Linked DNA regions of Homo sapiens: all the other regions are linked to region 2. Evidence: promoter capture Hi-C in 16 types of primary human blood cells and fetal thymus (Javierre and others, 2016). All regions are on one chromosome and are shown on one strand. Each heading gives the region's core, a stretch centred on a gene start or on the middle of the fragment in contact. The rest is flanking DNA. Distances are from core to core; before and after follow the strand shown. Region 1 holds the start of LOC124903834 (a long non-coding RNA gene). Region 2 holds the start of SLC45A1 (solute carrier family 45 member 1). Region 3 overlaps RERE (arginine-glutamic acid dipeptide repeats).

The links. Contacts are between HindIII fragments. The CHiCAGO score rates a contact against its expected background, and 5 or more counts as called.
Region 1: a fragment that was not itself captured here is called in contact with the fragment with the promoter of SLC45A1 in region 2 in 16 of 17 cell types (endothelial precursors, M2 macrophages, naive CD4 T cells and 13 more); the score reaches 30.8 in endothelial precursors.
Region 3: a contact is called between a fragment that was not itself captured here and the fragment with the promoter of SLC45A1 in region 2, in 1 of 17 cell types (total B cells). The highest score is 5.2, in total B cells.

Annotation. Positions count from the first base shown.
Region 1 is chr1:7,994,729-7,999,138 of GRCh38, reverse strand. It overlaps LOC124903834 (a long non-coding RNA gene), which reads right to left and starts at 12. Exons shown (of 2, transcript XR_007065451.1): 1 at 1-12. The HindIII fragment of the contact is 8,948 bases long and covers 1-4,410 here.
Region 2 is chr1:8,315,412-8,320,238 of GRCh38, reverse strand. SLC45A1 (solute carrier family 45 member 1) reads right to left here and starts at 2,125. Exons shown (of 9, transcript NM_001080397.3): 1 at 2,053-2,125. RefSeq lists a silencer at 2,016-2,295. The HindIII fragment of the contact is 5,366 bases long and covers 1-4,420 here.
Region 3 is chr1:8,756,629-8,761,438 of GRCh38, reverse strand. The region is part of intron 1 of RERE (arginine-glutamic acid dipeptide repeats); the gene reads left to right. Among named protein-coding and RNA genes, the nearest start is that of RERE, 59 kb to the left of the region's middle. The HindIII fragment of the contact is 6,872 bases long and covers 1-4,810 here.

The sequences.
Region 1 (4,410 bases), core at 1,345-3,844, 320 kb after region 2:
TCACTCTGTCATCCAGGCTGGAGTGCAGTGGTGCAATCCTGACTCATTGCAACCTCCACCTCCCAGGTTCAAGCAATTCTCCTGCCTCAGCCTCCCGAGTAGCTGGGATTACAGGCACCTGCCACCACGCCTCGCTAATTTTTGTATTTTTAGTAGAGACAAGGTTTCGCCATGTTGGCCAGGTTGGTCTCGAACTCCTGATCTCAGGAGATCCACCCACCTCAGCCTCCCAAAGAGCTGGGATTACAGGTGTGAGCTCCCTCACCTGGCCTCTTCTACTTTTTCTTTGCTTTTCCACCACGTGATGTCTTCTGCCATATGATGACATAGCAAGAAGGCCCTCACCAGATGCTGGCACCTTGCTATTTGACTTCCCAGCCTCCAGAATGGTGAGACAATAAATTTCTGTTCTTTATAAATTACCCAGTTTCAGGTATTCTGTTATAGCAGCAAAAATGAACTAAGACAAAAAAAAAAAGAAATAAAACATCTAAAAATAAAATTTACATATAATAATTAAAATTATTATACCAATGGATGCATTAGCCACCAGAATGAACACAGGTAAAAAAATTGTGAGAGCTGGGCACAGTGGCTCACGCCCGTAATCCCAGCATTTTGGGAGGTCAAGGCAGGTGGATAATTTGAGGTCGGAAGTTTGAGACCAGCCTGGCCAACATGGGGAAAACCTGTCTCTACTAAAAATACAAAAATTAGCTAGGCAGTAGTGGTGCACACCTGTAATCCCAGCTACTTGGGGGACTGAAGCAGGAGAATCTCTTGAACCTGGGAGGCGGAGGTTGTGGTGAGCCGAGATCATACCACTGCACTCCAGTCTGGGTGACAGAGTGAGACCCTATCCCAAAAAAATTAAAAAAAAAAAAAAGAATTATGAACTAGACAGTGGATCTGAAAATATTACACAGAAAACAATATTATACAGAATACAGTACAAAAAAGTAAAGAAACTGAAAATATGAAAAAGAGGTTAAGAGATATGAAAGTGTCTTAGTTCATTTAGTGTTGCTATAAAAGATACCTGAGAATACCTGAGGCTGGGTAACTTATAAAGAAAAGAGGTTTATTTGGCTCACAGTTCTGTAGACTGTACAAGAAGCATGGTGCCAGCATCTGCTTCTGGTGAGGCCTCAAGCTGCTTCCACTCATGGCAGAAGGAGGGGCAGCTGGCCTTGTCACATGGCAAGGGAGGGAGCAAGAGGGAATGGAGGAGGTGCGAAACTCTTTTTAATAATCAGCTCTTGGCTGGGTGTGGTGGCTCATGCCTGTAATCCCAGCACTTTAGGAGGCCGAGGCAGGTGGATCACCTGACATCAGAAGTTTGAGACCAGCCTGGCCAACATGGTGAAACCCTGTCTCTACTAAAAATACAAAAATTAGCTGGGCATGGTGGCGTGCACCTGTAATCCCAGCTACTAGGGAGGCTGAGGCAGGAGAATCACTTGAATCCAGGAGGCAGAGGTTGCAGTGAGCTGAGATTGTGTCACTGCACTCCAGCCTGGGAAACAAAGCAAGACTCCATCTCAAAAAAAAAAAAAAAAAAAAAGAAAGAAAAAAAAAGAAAAAAGAATTGCGAACAGGTAGTGAAATAAATGGTTGTACATGAATGCTCATAGCAGTGGTATTCACAATAGCCAGAAGACAAAGCCAAATGTCTATCAGTGGATAAATGGATAAACAAAATGTGGTACATCCATACAATATTACTCCATTATGTTATATGATTCCATTTACATGAAACATCCATTATAGGTAAATCCATAGAGGTAGAAGGTCAAATAGGGTTTGTCAGAGGCTGTGGGAGAGAGGACTGGGGAGTGAGGATGACTTCTAATGAGCACCGGATCTACTCTGAGGGATGAAAGTATTACGGAGCTGGACAGCAGTGAGGACTGCACATTATGAATGTACTAAGTGCCCCTGAACAGTCTGCTTCAACATGGTTCATTCTGTTAGATGAATTTCAGCTCCGTTTTTAAAAACTTGACACCCAGGTGGATTTAGGGGAAATTTCCATGAAACATTCAAAGAATAGGTATTTCTTACCCTTCAGAAATATTTATATAGAAAAGCAGAAGAGGGATACTCCCGATATAGTTAGGATATTTGTCCCCACCCAAGTCTCATATTGAATTATCCCCAGTGTTGGAGGTGGGGCCTGGTGGGAGACGTTTGGGTCATGGGGACGGATCCTCCATGGCTTGGTGCAGTTTTCTTGGTAGTGAGTTCTCCCGAGATGTGGTTGTTGTCAAGTGTGTGTGGCATCTACTCCCCGACCCCCATCTCTTGCTCCTGCTCCCACCATGTGAGACTCCTGTTATCACTTCATCTTCCACCATGAGCAAAAGCTCCCTGAGGCCTCCCCAGAAGCCGAGCACATGCCAGGGCCATGCTTCCAGTACAGCCTGCAGAACCGTAAGCCAAATCAACCTCTTTCTTTATAAATTACCCAATCTCAGGTATTTCTTTATAGCAATGCAAGAATGGCCTAACATGCTCCCCAACTCAAGACACGACTTTAGGCCAGGGACGGTGGCTCATGCCTGTAATCCCAGCACTTTGGGAGGCCAAGGCAGGCGGATCACAAGGTCAGGAGATTGAGACCATCCTGGCAAACACAGTGAAACACTGTCTCTACTAAAAATACAGAAAATTAGCCGGGCGTGGTGGCGGGCACCTGTAGTCCCAGCTACTCCGGTAGGCTGAGGCAGGAGAATGGCACGAACCTGGGAGGCGGAGCTTGCAGTGAGCCGAGATTGCACCACTGCACTCAAGCCTGGGGAACAGAGTGAGACTCCATCTGAAAAAAAAAAAAAAAGATAGGACTTCAGCGTAACTGTGATTCCAAAACTGTACAAAGACAGTACAAGAAAGGAAAGTTTCAGTTCAACTTTACCCATGAGATGTAAAAACCCTTAAATTACATACTTATCAAATAGAACCTGGTAATGTATAAAAACATAATGACCACATTGGGTTTACTTCAGGCATGCAAGACTAGTTCATTAGAAAATCTACTGACATAAGGCTGGGCGCGGTGGCTCACACCTGTAATCCCAGCACTTTGGGAGGCCGAGGCGGGCAGATCACAAGGTCAGGAGATGGAGACCATCCTGGCTAACACGGTGAAACCCCGTCTCTACTAAAAATACAAAAAAATTAGCCAGGCGTGGTGGCGTGCACCTGTAGTCCCAGCTGCTGGGGAGGCTGAGGCAGGAGAATGGCATGAACCCGGGAGGCAGAGCTTGCAGTGAGCTGAGATCGCGCCACTGCACTCCAGCCTGGGCGACAGAGCGAGATTCTGTCTCAAAAAAAAAGAAAAAGAAAATCTACTGATATAATTCACCATGGTAATAGATTAAAGGAGAAAAGCCAGAAGATGTCACTGATGATGGAAAACCATTCAATAAATTTCAACATCTACTCATGACAAAAACTCTTAGCAAACCAAGAATGGAAAGCGTACTTTATTTATTTATTTATTTATTTATTTATTTATTGTATTATTATTATTATTTGAGACAGACTCTAGCTCTGTCACCCAGGCTGGAGGGCAGAAGAAAGGTCAGAGAGACTTGAAGGGGATCCGGACAGGCCACCACAGAATATGCGACTTTGACATAAAGATTATTTTGAGCTGAAGGCAATTGAGAATCAACAGATCCAGAAAGAGTTCTCTGCCCTCCCCCTTTTTGCCTAAAAGCAGGTCATAAATTTGATCACACCAGTGTACTCCAGCCTGCGTGACAGAGGAAGACCCTGTCTCTTAAAAAAGTAAATAAGTAAATAAAAGTATCTGTATTTCTATATACCAGCAACAATCAGAAAACAATTTAAAAAAGGAATTAACAATGAAAAAGAAAGGAAGGAAGGAGGGAAGGGAGGGAGGGAGGGAGGAAAGAAAGAAAAAGGAGAAAGAAGGAAAGAAGGAAGGAGGGAGGGAGGGAGGGAAGGAAGGAGAGAGAGAGAAAGAGAAAGGAAGAAAGAGAGAGAGAGAAAGAGAAAGAAAGAGAGAGAGAGAAAGAGAAAGAAAGAAAGAGAAAGAAGGAAAAGGAAAAAAAGAGAAAAAGAAAAGGAAAGGAAAGGGAGAGAGAGAAAGAAAAGGAAAGAGAGAAAAAGAAAGAAAGGGAGAGAGAAAGAAAGAAAAAGAAAGAAAAGAGAAAGAAAGAGAAGAGAGAAAGAAGAAAGAAAAAAAGACAGACCTAATAATACCAACAATAAATCCAAAAGATGTGTAAACGCTTAATGGGGAAATTACAAAACTTTATTGAAAAACATTAAAGTTGGCTTATGCGTGGGTCAACCATAGTGGCTCACGCCTGTAATCCCAGCACTTTGGGTGGCTGAGGCAAGTGGATCACTTGAGGCCAGGAATTCAAGACCAGCCTGGTC
Region 2 (4,827 bases), core at 876-3,375:
AGCCTGTCCTAGCAGAAGGGAGATCCTCACACACTCAATGAACTTCTCTCTAGCATCTGAACCAGAATTAAACCTAGCTTAATCCTGGCTCAGAAGAAGTCTTTACTAAGGATTCATCTTCAAATCTGGGGATCAGCATTACCATTTTTATTAAAACTACATTTAGTAAAAACTGTTCACAAATGTTTATCATAAGAAGAATTTTAGAAACTCATTTTTGAGACCGGGCACAGTGGCTGACGCCTGTAATGCCAGCACTTTGGGAGGCCGAGGTGGGTGGATCACCTGAGCTCAGGAGTTCGAGACCAGCCTGGCCAACATGGAGAAACCCCGTCTCTACTAAAAATACAAAAAATTAGCTGGGCATGGTGGCGAGTGCCTGTAATCCCAGCTACTCCGGAGGCTGAGGCAGGAGAATCGCTTGAACCCAGGAGGTGGAGGTTGTAGCGAGCTGAGATCGCACCACTGCACTCCAGCCTGGGCAACAGAGTGAGACTCTTGTCTCAAAAAACAACAACAACAACAACAAAAATCCATTTTTAAGGTTCCCATAAAAATGGGTGAAAGTGGAATTTAAGATCATAAAATCTAATTTTCATGCACAAATACAAACATTCGCCAGACCATCTTTACTGTACCATATGACCATTTACTCGGTCAAAAGGAAATCCACTCATCTCCCTGGATCCCCCGAAGGCTATGCAAGGGGTCCACTGTGCTTCCAGAGTACAGAGGATGCTTAAAGTAACAGATTCCTCAAACTGTGTTGTGGGAAGTTTAAGCGGCAAATGATTAATAAAAGTAATCAATGTCAATGTAGTTTGAATGCTTACAATGATCCTACTACGAGCGGAAACCATTTCCTCATTTCTTTCTTCTCGTTATGAAAATGAGCTCCCCCCACGGGGTTGCCTTGGGCCACCTCCCTTCCTAGGGCGTATTTGCTTATTTGTTTATTTGAGACGGAGTCTCACTCTATCGCCCAGACTAGAGTGCAGTGGCATGATCTGGGTTCACTGCAACCTCCGCCTCCTGGGTTCAAGCGATTCTCCTGCCTCAGCTTCCCAAGTAGCTGGGATTACAGGCATGTGCCACCACGCCCGGCTAATTTTGTATTTTTAGTAGAGATGGGGTTTCACCATGTTGGCCAGGCTGGTCTTGAACTCCTGACCTCAGGTGATCCACCCGACTCAGCCTCCCAAAGTGCTGGGATTACAGGCATGAGCCACCGCGCCCGACCCCTCATGCTTCTTTCTACCCATTCTCAAAATTCTTCAGTGAGGTCCTCCAGGACCAGGAAGGTGCTCTACGGACTTGGGAGGGTGCACTTAATAGGCTAGTTACTGAATCGTGGCCGTTTCCCACTTTGCATCTCCGGCAGCTTGACCCCTACTCCAGGGCCAACTTTTCCCAAAAGCCCAGGCCAGGTGCAGCCTGAACGTGGCTTTCCTCCGCCCCTGACTCTGCTTCCCTGTAAGAGCTGAAAAACATGCACGGCTGTCACTCTAGAAATAATTAGAGAAGTTGCTGATTGTCGAGGGCAGAAGGAGCTGAACGGCTTCCACCTCAGCGCGTTCCCCTTGGTGCTGACTCGCTCGGGAAAGGGGAGTCCTCGGTGCCCTCGCTAAGTAACCCTGGGATGCTGAGGGGCGTTGCCAGGCCCCTGGTCAACAAGAGGGCTCAGCCCCACGCAAGAGGTGAGCCGGGAGCGGATGACACCTGCCCAGGTGACTAGGGACCAGGCCTCCGGCTCAAGGAGCGCATCAGGAGCTGGGGCCAAGGCCGGGGTCTCCTCCCCTTGCCAGCAAGGATGAGAGCACCTGCCATCTGGCCGGCACCCTCCCCTGGGCCCGAGGCTCCTGCCCTCGGAGGGGCGAGACGGGGGAGCTCCGTGGACTCTGCAATTCATGAGACTTCCACGAGGAACAAAGGTCTCCGTGCCGGCCTCGGGTCCCGGTCTCGGCGCCCTGACTACCCCGGGGCCCAGGGCGCGGCGCCCCGGCAGGCACGGAGCCAGAGAGCGGGCGGAGGGCGCGGAGGAGACGGTGGTACCTGTGGGTGGAGACGGCAGGCATCCCTGTCCCCGCTGGGCTGCTGCCTGCCCGGCCGCGGTCCCGGCTGCTGCAGCATCACCCGGGGCGGGGCGCTGACGTCACGGCCGCAGCCTCCGCATCCGCGCGGGGCCCGGAGCCTTAAAGCGGCGCCGCGTCTGGGGCCCCGCGGGCGGGAGGGGAGCCCGGTGTCCTCCTGGGCCCTTCCCGCGGGAGGCCCGTCCCGGTGCTTCGCGCACGACGGCGCGGTCTGCAGGATCTGCCAGGATCCCGGAGGAAAACGTCCCCCCGGCCTCACAGTTCTCACCGTTTTCTTCTGATTTTAAAAGAAATAAATACATTTTCGTGTCTTCATGTATAAATAGATACCCATGTGTTCGCGGATACGTGAATGCCGCAGTGCGTGTGCCAAGCCTGTGCCCATGTGCGCAGTGGGGCAGCCGGGCCTGCTGGAGGCGTCGCGACTCTGGGCCCGGAGCTGTCCAAGGCACTGGGGATGCCGCAAGAACAAGGCAAAGTTCCCGCCCCTGGGGGAACTTTGTAATGTAAGTAAATACATAAATACTTTATGTATTTATTATTTACTTCATTTTTTAAAATACAGAGAGGCAGGGCCTTGCTATGTTGCCCAGGCTGGTCTCGACTCCTGGGCTCAAGTGATCCTTCTGCCTCGGCCTCCCAAAGTACAGGTGTGAGCCACCGCACCCGGCTGCATGACATTTAAGAGAGAGACACACACACATTAAACAAGACATAAAATAAATGGTATGTCAGAAGATGGCAATGCCCTAGAGAAGGGGTTAGGGAGTGTGGGGCTGCAGAGGCGCTGGCCTTGCAGGTTTCTATCAGGTTGTTGGCGAGTCCTCACCTGGAAGGTGACACTAGAAGGAGGATTTGCGGAGCAGGCCGGGCACGGTGGCTCACACCTGTAATCCCTGCGCTCTGGGAGGCCGAGAGGGGCAGATCACCTGAGGTCTGGAGTTCGAGACCAGCCTGGCCAACATGGCAAAACCCCCATCTCTACTAAAAATATAAAAATTAGCCACACGTGGTGCTGGGTGCCTGTAATCTCAGCTACTCAGCTGAGGCAGGAGAATCGCTTGAACCTGGGAGGCAGGGGTTGCAGTGAGCTGAGATCGTGCCACTGCACTCCAGCCTGGGCCACAGAGTGAGACTCCATCTCAAAAAGAAAAGAAGGACCTGAGGAGCTAGGGGGGCCAGCCAGACTGACGTGTGGGGAAGGTCACGCCAGGCACTGGGAAGAGCAAGTGCAAAGGCCAGGGGCAGAAGTGAGCTGGGCTGAGTCCAATAATTACGGATGAAATAATTATGCAGCTGGTAGTGGAATAATAACCCCAGGGAAGCGCTGCAGAGTGGGGGCACGGGGCCCTGTGGAAGTTTACCGCGGCGGATTCCACCCCATTGGGAGGGTCGAGGGCTCCTCAAGGAGCCCTACCAGGCCAAGTAGAGAGAACAGCATGTCCCACACAGAGGGCTCAGAGAGCTCTGCACTGGCAGAGCTCCGGAGGGGAGAGGGCCTGGAGGCACACTGCAAAGGAAGTGGAGGGGGACAGGGATGCAGAGGCCTGGGAAGGAGGTGAGGGCTGGGGAGGTGGGACAGGCCCAGGTGTGGCCTCTTAGGCAGTTGCCAGTTTCTAAGAGCAAAGAGAAGCCTAGAAAGGTTTTATGTAGGGGAGTGGATGGCATGAATCCTATTCACAGTTAGCAAAGATCATAAAGCTCAGAGTGAAAACAGATTGGAGGGAACCAGGGGACCACATGGGCGTACCGGGTGGCACAGGTGGGAGAGTTGGGGGTGTTGGTAGAGGGAGAGAGGTGATGGACTGGCCGGGGACTTAGGACTCCATGATTGACTGAAGGTGGGGGGGTACAGGAACAGCGAGGGTGGTGCTAAGAAGTTTCTAGCTTGAGCGATGAGGGAAGAGAGTGGATTCATGGAGGCCAAAGCAGGTGTGTGCTGGAGTGAATGCCATAGGTTTGCTTTGGGATATGCTGAGCTTGAGGGCCTTCGCAGCCTCTAGGCCACCAGACACTTGGGTCTGGAGCTCAAAGATGCTCCTTTATGAGTCCCCTGCACATGGGAGCTAATTGCAGGTGAACTGTGGACCTCGCACTGCCAGGGAGAGGCGCAGGGCAGAGGGCCCCAGAGGACACCATGGGAATTTCAACAGATCCTGCCCAGGCTGAAGAGAAGGAGCCACTGGAGGGGGCTGGTTCTGGCTTCTTTTATCTCTATAACAGGGTAACAGCTTGAAAAAAATACCGATGTCCTTTTCTATTTTGCATGCAAGTGGCCTGCCATCAACTGATGAGCTTCAGCACCTCAGGGACTTAATGCAATAGAAGCTTACTTCCACATGAGGTTGGCAGAAGTGTGCCTGATGGGTGGGGACCTCTGTGAAGCCATTCAGGGATCCCGGTTGCCTCCATCTTGCTCTGCCCTGGTGCACTGAGGGAGGAGCCCAGGTGGTGCCTGCCCACGGGGCCAGGTGTGCAGGAGGCCCACGTTCCACTCGAATCCCATTGGCTAGGACCCTGCCACACAGCCACACCGGCCACACCCAACCCACAACAGGGCTGAGAGATGGGGCCCCTGTCCCCAGGAGAGGAGGAGATGGGGGTGGGGAGTTGCTGGCTTCAACTGCTTCTGTAACTTTTAGCTGCTTGCAGAGGGGAGAGAAGATGGGGAATGCTGAGAAAACTTAAAGATCATCTCGAGGTTCTGATGTTCACAACGGGATTTTGCAACAAGAGA
Region 3 (4,810 bases), core at 1,207-3,706, 440 kb before region 2:
TTGAGGAAGAAGATGCTAATAAATACAGCTTTTTATTGAGATGAGTGATTTTTGTCATTAGGCAGATGGAAATATTTAATATCTTGAGAAGTCATCAAGGTTAAGATGGAGATACTGAGAATGGGGTAGTTGAAGCCCCGAGGTGGAATAAAATTGCCAAAGGATTTAGTGTCAGATGTATCTTTTCCAAGTTTGTCACATTGCAAAACCTGAAAATCCTCCAGTTTTAGGACAGGATTGCTCTGGTGTTGTTTAAAGAACTCAGATTCTTCCTTTGAGTTTTTATTTCTCTTTGAGGTTCTTTCATTTTGATTCTCATTTTGGTAAGACGGTAAAGCATAATGGTTCCGAGTCTGAGCTTGAGAACAGAAGGATTGGGTTTGAATCCTTGTTCTGCCACCTCTCTGTCCTGTAATCCTGTTAGAGTTATGGAACGTCTTTGTGCCTCCATTTCCTTGTCTATATAATGGAGCTGATAATAGCTAAATGATAGGGTTGTTTATACATTAGTGGGATAATGTATGAAAATAATTTAGCCTGGCACATGGAACATAAGAAGTGCTCCATAAATGGTAGCTAATGTTGCCCTGAGAGTCTTGCTGGCTCCACTGCTTCTAATCCTAGAGTGTAGAGCTTCTCTTTTTAAATATAAAATTGTACAAAGTGTTTTGTTTTCATTTAGCATAACTGACACTGGCTGGATTTTCAAAGAATTTAACTTAGTATTAATATTAGTATTCCAAGGGAATAATTATAGTAAATATATTAAGAAACCATCCTGGGTGACAGAGCGAGACCCTATCTTCAAAACACAACAAAAATCCATGGAAATGGGCTTAAAATATCAAAAGCCTGTCCAAATTCAGTTACCTGTTCTTGGGCTTCCTGCTACCCTCCCTGTGACCTCTCACCCTTCACACCAAGGAACTGTGTCTCTCACACCTCTACCAGGTCCCTGCAGATACTTGCAACAAAGCTGTACTACTGACCCAGGACTCTTTCTTTTAATTCATCTCCGATTTTTGGCATCTTATCTAAGGCTGACTTTTGTGGACTGTGGTGATTGATATAAATGATGTATAAATGATTGTCTTAACTATTACAGGCCTAGGGGCTGGGCGCAGTGGCTTACGCCTCTAATCCCTGCACTTTGGGAGGCCGAGGCGGGCGGATCACCTGAGGTCAGGAGTTCAAGACCAGTCTGGCCAACATGATGAAACCCCGTCTCTACTGAAAATACAAAAAATTAGCTGGGCGCGGTGGCGGGCACCTGTAATCCCAGCTACTCAGGAGGCTGAGGCAGGAGAATTGCTTGAACCCGGGAGGCAGAGGTTGCAGTGAGCTGAGATTACGCCACTGCACTCCAGCCTGGGCAACAAGAGTGAAACTCCATCTCAAAAAAACAAAACAAAACTAAACTAAACTAATGATAGGCCTAGGTCTATTTACTTGGGGAGAATTTATTTTGAATTATTTCTCAGATAAATCTTCCTTTTCCCATATAGGAAACTGACCTTAATTAGATTTATACAGTGTAATAGCTCTGATCATCAAGACATATTGTGTGTGTGTGTGTGTGTGTGTGTGTGTGTGTGTGTGTATAGAGAGAGTAAGAATTTAGAGTTATACGTATATTGGCAGGAAAATTGTCCCTCACATTTGAATTTTGTAGTGTTTTTCTTCATGTCTGTTGAACTTGTGTAGTGTTCTAAGTTCTTTATGGCTGTTTTGCAATTGAGCGTAGTGGGTGTACAGTTTCACACAACCTGCAGTTAGCAGAGCCACTTAGTTATTGGGATGGGAATGGCACCCATATCTCTTGAGATTTTGATTTTTTAAAAACTGTGCTAAACCGTATTCTCCAAAGGAGAGAAGAAAGAATTTTGCAGTTTTCGTTCTGTTTTTTCTTTTGGGAAGCGTCTACTTTGGAGAATTTAACCCTTTTCTAAAGTAACTGCAGTTGTCTTTTATTCCCCTTTTTGAAATACCTGTGACCTATAGTTTGATTGGACCAACAAAGGCCTCAGGTGCACTGGCTTGTTTCACTTGTGTGCTTCTGGCCTTTTTCTTTCTAATTCTTCATCCTTGCCTTTTGAAAGGATGATGCTCTTTTCCAAGTGACCTCTAGCAGATTCTGAGATGTAGTGTCCGATTTAGTAATTTTCTCATATAAAAGGATTCTACAGTTAATGTGTCAGAAGAGGTAATAGTTGACAGTAAAGTAGGAATTTTTCATTTTTCTAAAGGAAAAATATAACCTTTCAGTGACTTAATACCTCTTTCCTTTCTTTGACAATCACAGTATCTTTTTATTTTTATTTATTTTTTCAAGATGGAGTCTCACTGTGTTGCCCAGGCTGGTCTCCAACTCCTGGGCTTAAGCAATCCTCCGGCTTCAGCATCTGAGTAGTTGGGAAATATCTTTTTAGTTAGTACCTCAATGTTGAGGTGAGAGAATAATCCCATTTTTTAAATTGACAAAAATTGTACACATTTATTGTGTATACCATGATGGTTTGAAATATATATACATTGTGGAATGGCTAAAATGAGTATATGTATTACTTCACATTTTTTTTTTTTGTGGTGAGGACACTTAAATTCTTCTTTGCAATTTTCAGTAATATAATACATTATTATTAATTATAGTCACTATATTATAAAGCTGATCTCTTGAACTTATTCCTCCTCACTGAAATTTTATGTCCTTTGACTCACATTTCCCCAGTCCTCCTCTCAGCCTTTGGTAACCACCATTCTACTCTTTGCTTCTACTTCAGCTTCAAAAAAAAGGTTGATGAGGCAGGAGGACCCCTTGATCCTAGGAATTCGAGACCAGCTTGGCGAGACCTCGTCACTACAAAAAATAAAAATAAAAAGTTAGCTAGGTGTGGTGGCGCACACCTGTAGTCCCAGCTACTTAGGAGGCTGAGGCAGGAGGATTGCTTGCACCCAGGAATTTGAGGTTACAGTGAGTTATGATTGTGCCGCTGCACTCCAGCTTGGGCAACAGAGTGAAACCCCGTTTCTTTAAAAAAAAAAAAAAAAAAAGATTGAGGGCCAGGCACGGTGGCTCACACGTGTGTTCCCAGCACTTTGGGTGGCTGGGTGGGTGGATCAGGAGGTCAGGAGATCGAGACCAGCCTGGCCAACATGGTGAAACACCTCTACTAAAAAATACTAAAATTTGCCGGGCATGGTGGCGCAGGCCTGTAATCCCAGCTACTCGAGAGACTCAGGCAGGAGAATTGCTTGAACCTGGGAGGTGGAGGTTGCAGTGAGCTGGGATCATGCCACTGCACTCCAGCCTGGGTGACAGAGCGAGATTCTTTCTAAAAAAAAAAAAATTGAACTTGACGTTTTAGGATTCTGCATATACGTGGGATCATACAGTATCTGTCTTTCTATGTCTGACTTATTTCACTTAACATAGTATCCTCCAGGTTCATCCATATTGTTGCAAGTAACAGAATTTTCTTAGAACACATAGTATCCTATTGCATATATATGTGTGTGTGTGTGTGTGTATGTATGTGTGTGTGTGTGTATACATATGTATGTGACTTTATCCATTCATCTGTTGATGGACACTTAGGTTGATTCTGTGTATTGGCTGTTAGGAATACCATTTTGCGTCCTTATATGGATAGTAAATAAACATCTTTATGATGAGTGTTTTTGGTGAACAGACTTTGAATGTTTGGCTTTTTGGTTGAATTTAATACTTTAGAGTGAAAAAAGGCTGACTAGAATGAAAAAAGGCTGATGTTCAAATACATAATTTTAGTGAAGTAGTTTCTACCAGCTCTCTTAACTACAATGTTCTATCAGCTGTGGGAGGAGTTGAGAAAGACAGGAATACACAAACCAGCAACAACAGTGAGCTTATCTTGATTTTCTTCCCATTGTCTTACATTTGTTCCTCTGATAAGTTTATGGGAAATTATGTAAATTCTAGGTCTCTTTTGATGGAGCATCCTATTTAGTATTACATTAGTGATGCAGTAGAGAATTTGATTTTGGTAGCCCATGTGGTTCATTCATTTAGTCATGACTAGAGAATGAGGATTTCCAGGGTATTTCTTTTGTGTTAACTTTAGAAAAAATTGATTATTTAGTGAAAGAAATGGGGCAGTAATTTGCTAGGGAAAGTTCATACAGGACAGTGATTATTAGGAATGAATTTTATTTAACAGAAATAGGAAAATGTTTACTTTGTGACATTTGCCAGCTGTTAACACTTTCTTTGTGTGTTTTGTGTTGAATGACAAGTAGCTTCATTATCTTCCATCTTTATGAGTGCCATCAGAAGCAGTAACTGGTTTGCTTTTTTTTTTTTTTTTTTTTTGAGATGGAGTTTTGCTCTTGTTGCCCAGGTTGGAGTGCAATGGCACAATCTCGGCTCAATGCCACCTCCACCTCCTGGGTTCAAGTGATTCTCCTGCCTCACCTCCCAAGTAGCTGGGATTACAGGCATGCACTACCATGCCTGACTAATTTTTTGTATTTAGTAGAGACAGGGTTTCACCATGTTGGTCAGGCTGGTGTCAAACTCCTGACGTCAGGTGATCCACCTACCTCAGCCTCCCAAAGTGCTGGGATTACAGGTGTGAGCCACCATGTCTGGCCAACATGTGGCTTTCTAATGAATAAATCATTTTCAAAGTTTCAAACCCACTGAAACTAACAAGATTCAGTGCCAAATTAATATAATTGCATGTTTTCATTCTAAAGTTAAAGTGATCCTGATCTTCAAAGAAAACTTTCAAAAAGATATAGTAGTACAGCAAAGCAGACTAATATTTTAGAA